Regions from separate parts of the Homo sapiens genome. Here region 1 is linked to region 2. The links are contacts of gene promoters, found by promoter capture Hi-C in blood cells and fetal thymus (Javierre and others, 2016). All regions are on one chromosome and are shown on one strand. The core of a region is centred on a gene start or on the middle of the fragment in contact, and the rest is flanking DNA. Distances in the headings are between cores, read along the strand shown. Region 1 overlaps HSF5 (heat shock transcription factor 5). Region 2 holds the start of EPX (eosinophil peroxidase).

Evidence for each region. The method cuts DNA at HindIII sites, captures the fragments that hold promoters and counts their contacts. A CHiCAGO score of 5 or more calls a contact.
Region 1: a fragment that was not itself captured here is called in contact with the fragment with the promoter of EPX in region 2 in 1 of 17 cell types (M2 macrophages); the score reaches 5.5 in M2 macrophages.

Annotation. Positions count from the first base shown.
Region 1 is chr17:58,463,898-58,469,754 of GRCh38, reverse strand. HSF5 (heat shock transcription factor 5) reads left to right here. Exons shown (of 6, transcript NM_001080439.3): 3 at 2,776-2,870. Among named protein-coding and RNA genes, the nearest start is that of HSF5, 22 kb to the left of the region's middle. The HindIII fragment of the contact is 6,600 bases long and covers 642-5,857 here.
Region 2 is chr17:58,191,169-58,196,928 of GRCh38, reverse strand. It overlaps EPX (eosinophil peroxidase), which reads right to left and starts at 4,203. Exons shown (of 13, transcript NM_000502.6): 1 at 4,007-4,203; 2 at 3,798-3,891; 3 at 3,383-3,558; 4 at 3,098-3,215; 5 at 2,837-2,966; 6 at 1,759-1,965. The coding sequence starts at 4,082. The HindIII fragment of the contact is 9,173 bases long and covers 1-5,760 here.

The DNA of each region.
Region 1 (5,857 bases), core at 2,692-5,191, 270 kb before region 2:
GGAAGACACTGAAAGTTCTTTGTGCAGATGAATGTATCTTAGGACATAGTGATAAACTAAGTTTTATAAATGTCAGTGCTTTCATAATGCACAGTTGATTATTTTTTCATATACTAGGCACATAGTCAAATTTCTATGCCTAGGTTTTCATATTCAGTAAACTTACTAATACTTTGTTCTATTTTGTTGACTATACAAAATAGGACTACAGTGGTAAGGAATAGCCATTGAGGAATCTTTTTGGAGTATAATCTATTCAAATCCTCATTTTCTTCATACAGGTACTGTTTTACTTTCCATTTGTTACTGGATACTTTAAAGAACATTTACTTTTTCGCTGTTTCCTGAGATACTAACTCAGCTATCAAGCTATCAAAAATATATTAACATATTCTCTGTTATATATTGTAGTTTATTTCTCTGAGAAATTTATTTTAAAGTACATTTTTACACCTATTCAAAATGTGTAACCAATGGAGTCAGAAACTTCCGAACAATAAAGCTAATCCTTTTATTGATTTATTTGTAATGAAACACAGCTTTTTGGTACCCCGATGGAATGGACCTGCAGCTCCTAAGTCTTTCTCTACTTCTGGGTGGCTAGATTTTCCTTAGCTGCTATAACTCTAGGGGAAAAAGCTTTTTTTTTTTTTTTTCCCTTCCCGAGTTTTGGCAAGCTCTGCAGATCCTGCTTGGTGTTTAGCTATTTGGATTCAATTTATTTCCTAGGATATTTGTGCTGTCAAATACTTTGGGAAATCAAATTCAAATCCAAAACATTTAAAATATATATTTGAATAACCTTCAAAGGATCAAATCTAAGAACTGTTCAGCTAACCTGTATTGGAAATGATAACAGCTTGAATTTTATGAGGCAATCTTAGTAATATATGGCCTTTTAAAGTCACCAAAATTGTTAAAAAAAGTCATCCAAAAAATAACCTTTATATTTATGTCTGAACTATAATTTTGCCCATTATTTCAAGTTTTCTTTCTGTGTGCAAAATTTAATGGTTAAATTGCTCATGATACAAAGAGAAAATATTTATTTCTAGTATATCTTCATGAACTTCTGATGTTTCAAGAATCAATAGTCATGGAGAAATAGGGAAGCATTTCGGCTATTTTTTAAAAATTCTTAGGTCAATTTACCTTTAAAGATTAAATAATGAGATTAGCACACTCAAAATATGAAAAATGTGGACATAAAAAGGGAGAGTTGCCACCTTATTGATAAAGACACCTTTAAAGATATTCGGCAAGTAGAATTCTAGTAAAACTACAAATGTTACATTTCAGGAACAGGGTTTAGCTTAGGGAATTATTGTGAGATATATATATATGTAAATTTTTTTTGTACATAGAGTCTTACTCTGTCACCCAGGCTGGAGTGCAGTGGCACAATCATGGCTCACTGCAGCCTCTACCTCCTGGGCTCAAGTGATCCTCCCACCTGAGCCTCCTGAGTAGCTGGGACTACAAACATGTGCCGCCAAGCCTGGCTGTTTTTTGTATTTTTTGTAGAGACGGGGTTTCACCGTGTTGCCTAGGCTGGTCTCAAACTCCTGGGCTGAAGGGATTCACCTGCCTCAGCCTCTCAAAGTGCCGGGACTACAGGAGTGAGCCACCATGCCTCGCTGTATTGTGGTATATTAAAGAGCGTGTGCTTTGGAGTTTAATTACTGACTCTGTCACTTCCAGCTTTGTGACTTTTGGCAAATTACTTAATATCACTGAGCTTTAGTTTACTTGTTTTGTAAAGGCAATGTATGTAAAGCATTTACTACTGTGCCTGGAATAGGGTGGGTGTTCAATGTACATCATCCTCTGTTTAAACCACAGTTGTGATATTAATAACTGATTCTCACTTATACTGGAGAGTCTCTACAAAAAAGCAGACTCAACCTATTATTAAGACTGCATCTGTAAGTAACTTTGCTAGTACCAAGAGTTCAATCTTTTCACAGTGTCCTGACTATAAAGGGAAAGTTTTGAAAATGTGTTTCTTCAGTTAAAATAATAGCAGCTAACACTTACTGTTTGCTTACTGTGTACCAGTACTCTTCTAAGTTCTTTATGGATATTAGCTCATTTATATCACAACAACCACCATATTTGGTAGGTTCTATATTCTGTTATTATCTCTATTTTAATAGGATGCAGAAACTGAGGTACACAGAGATTAACCATGCTCAAATTTACACTGGGCTGTAAAGCCAGGCTGGTGGAGCTGGGCTCCAAAACCAGGCAGTCTGGCTCTGTGATCTGCATTCCTGACCACTTGCCTAAATTATTAAAACATTTTTGTGTACATTTCTACTGGATGCATTGTTTAATGGTGGAACATTTGGAGAATACTTCATAGTTATTTTACTCTTTTAAAACACTCCACCCTCCAAATAGTTGTTACTGTTGAAATGATTGAAATACTTATTTTGGAATTTCAATATATTCCTCTATTTTCAATAAAATGAAATTACTTTCAATAAGAATATATGTTTGGTTAGAAAGGTAACAAAATGCTTAGGTGTTAAAGAAATGATTTATAAAAATAGACATTAGACATGACCCTTTTAAAGACCTTTAAAATTATTTTGTTACTGTGTGTGTTGTTTTCAATAAATAACACCACCTAATTGGACTAAATATTTTGTTAGACATACAAAAGAAGTTCTTCAAATTTGGATTTCTTTCCATGTTGAAAGAGGGGAGCTCCTTGAATGCTATAGAAATGTATTGTGGTTGATGGCTTTTCTGTGTTTGAATTTGTTCCAGCTGTGCTACAGTGCTGTTCTCCTACCCACATGGATGCTCTAAGTAGTTGTGTCACTCCCACTGCCTCTTCCTATGCACACTGCAACTACTTCCAGGTAAGATTCTTGCAACTGTGGCCATGCTCCGCGCTTTATGTGCAATTTTATCGATATTGCAAAATTTCAAAGTGTAATTTTATATTAATGAGTAACCAGAAGTAAGCTGTGGATTAATGGGCTTTGTTTTCTCAATTCTTAAAAAAAAAAAGAGAGAATTGATATAAATAATATCTCAGAATTCTTCTAGGCCAGAACTGTTCAATATAGTAGCCACTAGCCACATGTGGCTATTTAAGCTAATTAAAATTAAATGAAATTTAAAAATTCCTCAGTTATACTAGTCACATTTCAAGTACTCAATAGTCTCATATGGTTATTAAAATTAAAATTAAATTGATTTAAAAATTATTCCATACTTAACGTAGACACATTTTGAGTGCTCAGTAGTTTCATATGGCTTATGGGTACTGAATTATACAGCACAGATCTAGAACATTCCCATCATTGCTGAAAGTTATTTTAAACAGTGCTGTTCTGGATTTTTCCAAGGTAAAATGAATACCAGATAAACGCTACAAGTGTGTAAGTCACCAAATGACAGATTCTTCCAAGATGATACAGATAAATTAGACTTTTCTTTTTAAGGAGAAAGGAGAAAAATGTCAAAAATGAGAAATTTAAGTGGTGGCCCCCTTCATCCATAGCCCCTATGTTGTAAACACCATAATGGTTCAGTATCCCTTAGTCAAAATGCTTGGGACCAGGAGTGTTTCAGATTTTGGATTTTTTCAGATTTTGGAATATTTCCAAAAACATAATGAGATATCTTGGGAATATGACCCGAGTCTAAACATAAAATCTAATTATGTTTCATATATACCTTATGCATATAGTTTAAAGGTAATTTCATGCAATATTTTTAGTAACTTTGTTCATGAAACAAAGTTTGTGTTAAGTGCTTTTCTGCTGGAATTTTCCACTTGTGGTATCATGCCAGCACTCAAAAAGTTTCAGGTTTTGGAGTATTTGAGATTTTAGAATTTTGGATTAAGGATGCTCAACTTTTACTTCAAATATCTTCTCATTGTTTCTTAGGAGACACTTGCTTGGAGTTAAACGTTTTATATAGCTATTTTAAGGATACTTTTAAATTCCATGCTTTGTATTTTTATGCTGTAACTGCCAAAGATTGGAATTGTGTGTTTGCCTTGGATAATCATCTAGCCAAGATAGTTTCAAGATAGTCTCAGTTCTTAGGAGAATATCTTACTAGTGGCATTAGGGTACTCAAAAGAACATTCCCTTTTTTTTTTTTTTGGAGAAAATCTACATAGGAAGTCAAATTATAATCAGATTGTTGTTTGGAGTATAGAATGAGATCAAGGGGACTTAGCTGGCCATTTTTCATGGCTGATATGATCAAGCATGATATCCTAGCCCATTCATCTTCACTGGAGGGACATACCTATCCCACAGTTAGATGCTCTTGTTTGTGGGTCCAGGCACTCTCTTCTCTGGATCATGCTGGAGATACTATGGCAGTGTTTATATCTTGATTATGTTGTGTGCTAAATAAAACATTTTTATAAAGACCTTTTCTTGTTATAGAGACAATATATGGCCGTGTACAATGGGTCATGCCTTATAATCCCAGCTCTTTGGGAGGCCATGGTGGGAGGATTGTTTGAGGCCAGGAAATTGAGATGAGCCTGGGTAACATAGTGAGTGAGACCCTATCTCTTAAAAAAAAAAAAAAAAAGAAAAGAAATAAAGGAAGGAAGAAGGAAGGGAGGGAGGGAGGGAGGGAGAGAGAAAGGGTGGGTTAGTTGGATGTAGTGGTGCATGCACCTTTTGTCCTAGCTTGGGAGGCTGAGGTGGGAGGATCAAGCGATCCTCCCACCTTGAGGAGTTTGAAGAGTTTGAGGCTATAGTGAGCTATGATTGTGCCACTGTATTCCAGCCTGTGCAACACAGTGAGACCCTGTCTCAAAAAAAAAAAAAAAATCTGCCAGGCGTGGTGGCTCACGCCTGTAATCCCAGCACCATTTTGGGAGGCTGAGGTGGGTGGATCACTTGAGGTCAGGAGTTTAAGACCAGCCTGGCCAACATGGCGAAACCCTGTTTCTACTAAAAGTACAAAAATTAGCTGGGCATGGTGGTGGGCGCTTGTAATCCCAGCTACTCAGGAGGCTGAGGCAGGAGAATCGCCTGAACCTGGGAGGTGGAGGCTGCAGTGAGCCAAGATCGTGCCATCGCACTCCAGCCTGGGTGACAAAAGTGAAACTCTGTCTCAAAAACAAAACAAAAAATTTTAAAAAGACAATACGTGTTCATCATAGGAAAATAGCAATAAGCACACATAAAATTTTGAAATAGAAAAATGGGAAAGTGTTTCAGATTCCATCCTGAAAATAAATGCAGTTGGTTTAGTTGGACTGTAGGTATGGGTGAGAGTGTGCGTGCACAGTCAGTACATTGTATTGTTTAAGAGCAAGAGCTCTTGAATACGGCAAACCTAGGCTTGAAACCTGGCTCTGTCAGTTATTTCATTGTAACTTTGGGTAAATTAGGAAGTTTCTGGACCTCAGTTTTATCATTTGAAATGGAGATTATCACATTTCACAGGGCTCTTTTGAAGGTTGGATGAAATCTATATAAAGCACTTTGCATGTGCTTGGCACATAGTAATAACTCAATAAATGTGCTATTGGCTATAGTCACTTAGTGCTTATACCATTTGAATTTACATTATTTGGCATTAGTGGCCTTCTGAAAATCTTTGACAATCTTTGTTAATGATTGTGTTTAGCAGCATCAACTCACTACATACTTTCTTTAATCATAACTCTTCTGTATTTTAAGTTTATAATCTGATATAATCAGCAAACATTTATTGAATGCCTACTCTGTGCGAAGCTCTTCATTGTGCAACATCAATTCATTACATGTTTTATTTAATCATTCTTCTGTATTTTATGTTCACAGATCTTTATCACCAAACATGTATTAAATGCCTACTCTCTGCAAAGCAGTATATACAAGGG
Region 2 (5,760 bases), core at 2,954-5,453:
AGAGGAGACAGTGACATGGGGCCCCCTCAATAGCAGACTCACTCCTCTCCGTCATCTTCCACCTCCTCAAAACCTTGCTTAAAACTCCCTTCCTCCAGGAAGCCCTCCTTGACTCACCCAGGCTCATGCTGCTCACCCCGTCAGTCTGAGTGTCCTTAACATTTTGTTTCATAGAGTCTCAAAAGGTTAGGAATGAATGAGGCTTTTGAAACAATCTCGATCCTCATTTTACAGCAAGGAAAACAGCCTCAGAGAGGGGAAGTGACAACCAGTTAGCAGGAAAGGTGGGATTAGAACTTAGTTCTCTTGACTCTTAGGCCTGAGCTTCTTTAATTCTGTTCAATTCGACAGACCTTTTCTAAGCCCCTTTCTTGCTTGCTGCTTTGGAGATTATGAAGGTTAAAAAAACACAGGAAAGGTTGCAGGAAGCTGGCAGTTCAGTGGAAAAAGACACACACACATAGAGTTAAGAAACTAAGTTGAAGTGGCATCTGCTGTGCTTGATAGAAAAGCCATATGTGGGCCAGGTGTGGTGGCTCACGCCTATAATCCTAGCACTTTGGGAGGCCGAGGCAGGTGGATTACATGAGGCCAGAAGTTTGAGATCAGCCTTGTCAACATGGTGAAACCCAATCTCTACTAAAAATACAAAAATTAGCCAGGCTTGTTGGCACATGCCTGTAATCCCAGCTACTCGGGAGGCTGAGGCATGAGAACTGCTTGAACCCAGGAGGCAGAGGTTGCAGTGAGCTGAGATTGCCCCTCTGTACTCCAGTCTGGACAACAGAGTGAGATTCTGTCTCAAAACAATAATAATAATAATAAAGAAGAAAGAAAGAAGGAAAGATAAAGAAAGAAAGGACGGAAGAAAGAAAAAGAAAGAAAAAGAAAGAAAGAAAGGAAGGAAGGAAATGAAGGAAGGAAGGGAAGGAAGGAAGGAAAGGAAAGAAAGAAGAAAGAAAGAAAGAGGAAGGAAGAAGGAAGGAAGGAGAGAGAGGAGAGGGGAGGGGAGGACATATGTTAAAAGTGTAATAGGAAGATCTGAGAAGGCTCCCCAGAGGAGGTGCCCCTAAGCCAGGGATTGAGGAATAGATAAGGTTGCAACAGGGAGAGGCCATCCAGAGGCCCTCACATGTCATCCCTCATGAATGTGGCCCCACCTATTAAGGGTGACTGTGTGTGTACATGTGTGTGTGAGAGGGAGCGTGTGTGTGCACGTGTGTGTGTGTGAGAGAGTGTGTGTGTGCACGTGTGTCAACCCTATGTTCCTAGCAGAGACTCTGCTCCCTGGATTCTATCTTTCCTCCCCTAGTGCCCCACACTGTCCTTGGCTTCTAGCCTGAAGGTTAGGACCCTACTTACAGCCCAAGCCCAAGAAGCTGGCAAGAGCCGCAGGACCCTTGGACTACTCTGGGAAGGAGAGAAGGGCAAGAGCTAAGAGGCCCTTAGGTTGCCAAAAGCAGGGGCCCAGAGGCTTCCCCTGTTGGATTCAGACCCATGGGTCAAGGCATGTGTCAAGGGCTTCCCACTCCATGAAGCCTGACCTGAGCCTCCTGGCAGATTGCCCTACCCCCACCTCTCAAACACACACGGCGCGGGGTCTCTGCTCAGCTGTGTTTCTTGTGTCTCTGTCTCATACCCTAGCTCCACAGGCAGCTCCTTAAGGATGGTGCTCCAGTCTTCCAGATCCCCACCCCCAGCACCTTGCCTTTGGGGGAGGCCACACAAGGGCATGGGAGATTGGCTGAGGGTAGGTACCTTGATGGGAAAGCAGGGGGGCAGCTGGGCGCAGGTCCTCTCACAGTCAACGCCTGCAGTGAAGGCCACTCTGGCCGGGGACTCCGGGGAGAAGTCCAGGTCATGGTCAATGAACTGGCCCCACTGCATGAACATGAGGGCTCGGCCACGGTCGGAGGTCAGTCTCTCATTGGGGAAGCGCACAATCTGGTTGGAGACAGCCCGGACCTGGTGGGGAAATAACATCAGCACGGGACATGGGCTCCCTGACCCCACAAGGTATTAGAGCCAACCCAGGACTCAGGGAGCAGCAGCTCCCCTGCTGGAATTGACAGCCTCTCCTCTTCTGCCCTCCATGCCCCTTTTGTCCCTGGAGGCGTAGCCACCTCCTGCTCTCATTCCTAGAAGGATGGTTTCTGGCTGGGCTCCTGAGGATTCCGGTGGTAAAGAGAAGGAGAGGGGCTAGGTTGACTGGCTCAGACCTCACCAGCTCTCCCAGAGGGGAAGGGAGATCAAATAGATAGATCAATTTGTACACTGATAGCTAACCAGATGATAGCACGGATTCACAGGTGCATGGGCTGGTTGCCAGGTGATGGATAATACACGTAGGGAGTACGGGGTCAGCAGATGGAAGGGTGGATAGAAGAAAATTAATTAATAGATGTTGATAGATGGGTAGATGATAGACTGCTCTATCGATATATCAATAGAAAACTGATGAGTTGATAAATGTGAAATAGATCAATAGATAAAGCCAGATTAAGGTATAGAGCTGTTTATATTTAGCAAGACTTTGACACTAATTTTCTCAGAAAAAACCGTACAACACCGTAATGGTTAGCATGAATAGATCATGTCCTCTATAGCTATTTATACCAAGGACTTCAATATCCACACAGGCTCTACGAGGTAGGTTTTAGGGCCATTTTACAGATGAGGAAACTAAGCCTCAGAAAGCTGTGTTATTTGCCTCAAGTCACTGCACTGGTCAGTGGAAGGGCCTGGGTTCAAGCCCTGCCTGCGTGACTCTGGGCTGTGTTTTACTCCCCGCATTTAAGAGATCAAGCAACCTCCCAAACCCTCAGCCCCAACTCACAAGAGGGAGAAGGAAGCCATTGCGCCTCCTGCTGGGGGTCCAGCCGAAGGGGAGCGACAGCCCATCCTCATACTCGGCGGGCAGCCAGCGAGCCAGAGCCTGGTTGGAGGCCCCTAGCAAGGGTCTCCTCCTGCAGCCATGGGTGGGATAGGTTAGCAGGGGGCAGGGCCTGGAGATGGCTCAGCATGGAGGGAGAGGGTGGGTGCAGGAAGGGAGAGGTCCCCCAGGCAGGGGCAGCCCCTCCTGCCGCCCCGCACGCACTTGTTGTTGCACCGTCCAGTGATGGTGCGGTACTTGTCGCTGCAGCGCTCGGCCTGGTCCCGGAGAGCACAGCCACTGGCCTGGGACAGCAGCCGCAGCTGTGGTTCTGTTAGCACATCTGTGGGAAGGCAAATGGGCAGACCTGAGCTGGCCTGCTCTGTACCTCCCATCCCTTTACCCTCTCTCCTCCCAGCACCCCAAACCTGTGCACCCTGCCTCCCTCTCCTGGATTCCTTCTACTCCAGGCCAGGGTAGGCCCAGCGGGCTCAGTGGGGATCAGAGTACCAGTGACATTGAAGGGTCCGGACCGCTGGGGTTGTAACTTCTCTTCAAGCAGCCCCAAAGCCACATGCATATAATCTGCGGCCCGAACAACTGTCCTGGTGGCTGCTACCGGTTGTTTGAAGTAGGACAGGAGGTCCATGGGGCTGGCTGAACCGCTGCGAAGCCGCTGCTTGATGCTGCCCAGGAGAGGAGGAGTGAGGGCTGGAGAGAGGGTGCAGACCCACCCAGCAGAGACCCAGTCCTGGGGCACAGTCAGGACAGGGCAAGCGGACAGAAGGATGGATGGAAGGGAGGCTCTACCAACAGGAAATGTTCATGGGGTCCAGAGGTGGCTGATGAGTGAGATGAACTTGGCTGGGGCCCATGCCCCTCACTGATCCTCCCAGGCCCATGCAGCCCCCAGACCCAAGTCCACCTCTTCTGGGTCCAATTGTAGGCAGCATCCACCAGCAACTTGGCCTCTGCTATGCAGTCTCGCAGGACCGAGGTCTCCACTGCCCCAGGGGAGGCTGTTCAAAGAGATGGGGACTCAGGGTTCAGCAAGCCACAAGACCCCCTCCAAGACCCAAGTGCTTCCCCTTCCATTTCCCCTCCCTCCTCCTTGCCTGTCTAGGGGACTATTACCTGGGTCAGTGCCCTCACAGGGCTGGGCGAGGACGAGTGTGGCCAGGACCCCTGCCAGGGCTGGGAGCAGATGCATCTCTGCAGCGAGGCTTCACCAGCTGGGAAGTGAGTGACATCCACAGCCTGCACGGGAGGATCCTCTGCTCCCCTCTCACTTTGAGGACCCCCAGCCGACCTCTCACTTCCTCCAGCTCTTCTCTGGACGTAGCTGGGAAGGGACTTTTATAGCCCATTCTAGGGTGGGGGAGGGCAGCTCTGGGCCCTAGAAACCCAGCCTCTTGGGTGGAGTTCTGAAACTTCTCTCTGGTTTTCATGGGAGTTTTGAGACTGAAACCCCCCACCCCACCTCCTACCAGCCTGGGGACATTCTTCCTGCCTACCCTTCACTCCATCCCTACCCTCTACTACCAAGCCCACTGATGCACTTCTCCCAGGGCCCAGAGCAGCACCTGGGACACAGGTGTCGCTCAATGGATATTTGTTGGCTGACAGGAGCGGTGCACCTCAGTCGCCACCGCCTGGCTGCATGGCCTTGGGCAAGCCACTTTCCCTCTCCAGGCCTCAGTTTTCACATCCCTAGAATGAGAGTTGGGCCAGATGATTGGAAGGGTGCCTCTCCTCCTGCAACAGGGCAGAAACTGAATCTGCCTTACTGTTATACACACCCCCCATACCCAGCTCAAAGCCCAGCATTTAGTATGTGCTTAGCAGGTGTTTGTTGAGTGAATGAATGATCTGTGATGAATGATTTGGCCCCTCTCCTTATCCCCTAGCCCTACTCACTCCCTCCAAGGTGCCAGGGAGAGTGTGAGGCTGTGACTGAGGCAGGGCCTGGCAGTGAAATCCCTCATGGGGCCATTTTGGGGACATGGCGAGATGTCACAGGTAAAACACCCAGCCCAGTGAGCTGCTGCAGAGCCTAAAAGTAAGCGCCCGCCATGGGCTTTATTCTCTTGGAGTTTCTTAGGTGCCAATCAGTAGTAGGTTTACTCTGAGAAGTAGATTTCAATTATGAGTTCCTATTGGGCTTGGTGAGAAGTAGCTTCTTTAGAGGCAGTGTGCTGCACCAGGGTCTGATTGGCCTGGATTGAATCCAGCCCTGTCACTAGCTTCGTGACCTTGGGTGAGCCTCCATTTCCACCTTAAGTGCGCCTCCATTTCCACCTTAAGTGCAGAGTGCATCCCAGTCGGCCTTCTGCCAGGGCCCACCCTCTCTGCACCTAAGCCTTCCTCCTGTAGTTCCCTGCCCTGGATGAGCCAGGTTCATCCTTTGCCTCTGACCTCATCCCGGCTGCCTGGAGAGCACATGCTCATCCCTGAGACAGTTCCAGAGTCACCACCACTGTGGCCAGCAGCCTGCGTGTCCTCGCCCCTTCTTCAGGAGGACACGTCCATTCCTTCTTCAGTGTGGACCCCGTGCCTGCTCCAGACTCCCAGGGAGGCTGTTCCAAGTGTCCTTTCTCCTCCCCCACCCCCACACCCTACCGAAACCCTGCCCGGTGCCTTCCACAGCCTCCTCCTCCCACAGCAATGTTACCAGCCCAACCGTTGCTCTTGAAACAACCACCTCTCTTCGGCAACCCCTTTCACAAGCTCCAGTTGATGGCCTGAGCCCTCCTAATCTTATCTCCTTATCTTTAGCGGAGGCCCCTCTCCTGTGACGGGGGGCCTGGGTAGAAGTCACTGTGTAGGAGCTGAAAGCACACTGGGTTCCTTGATGCTGACCCACTGAGTGACTGGGTAAATCACACCCC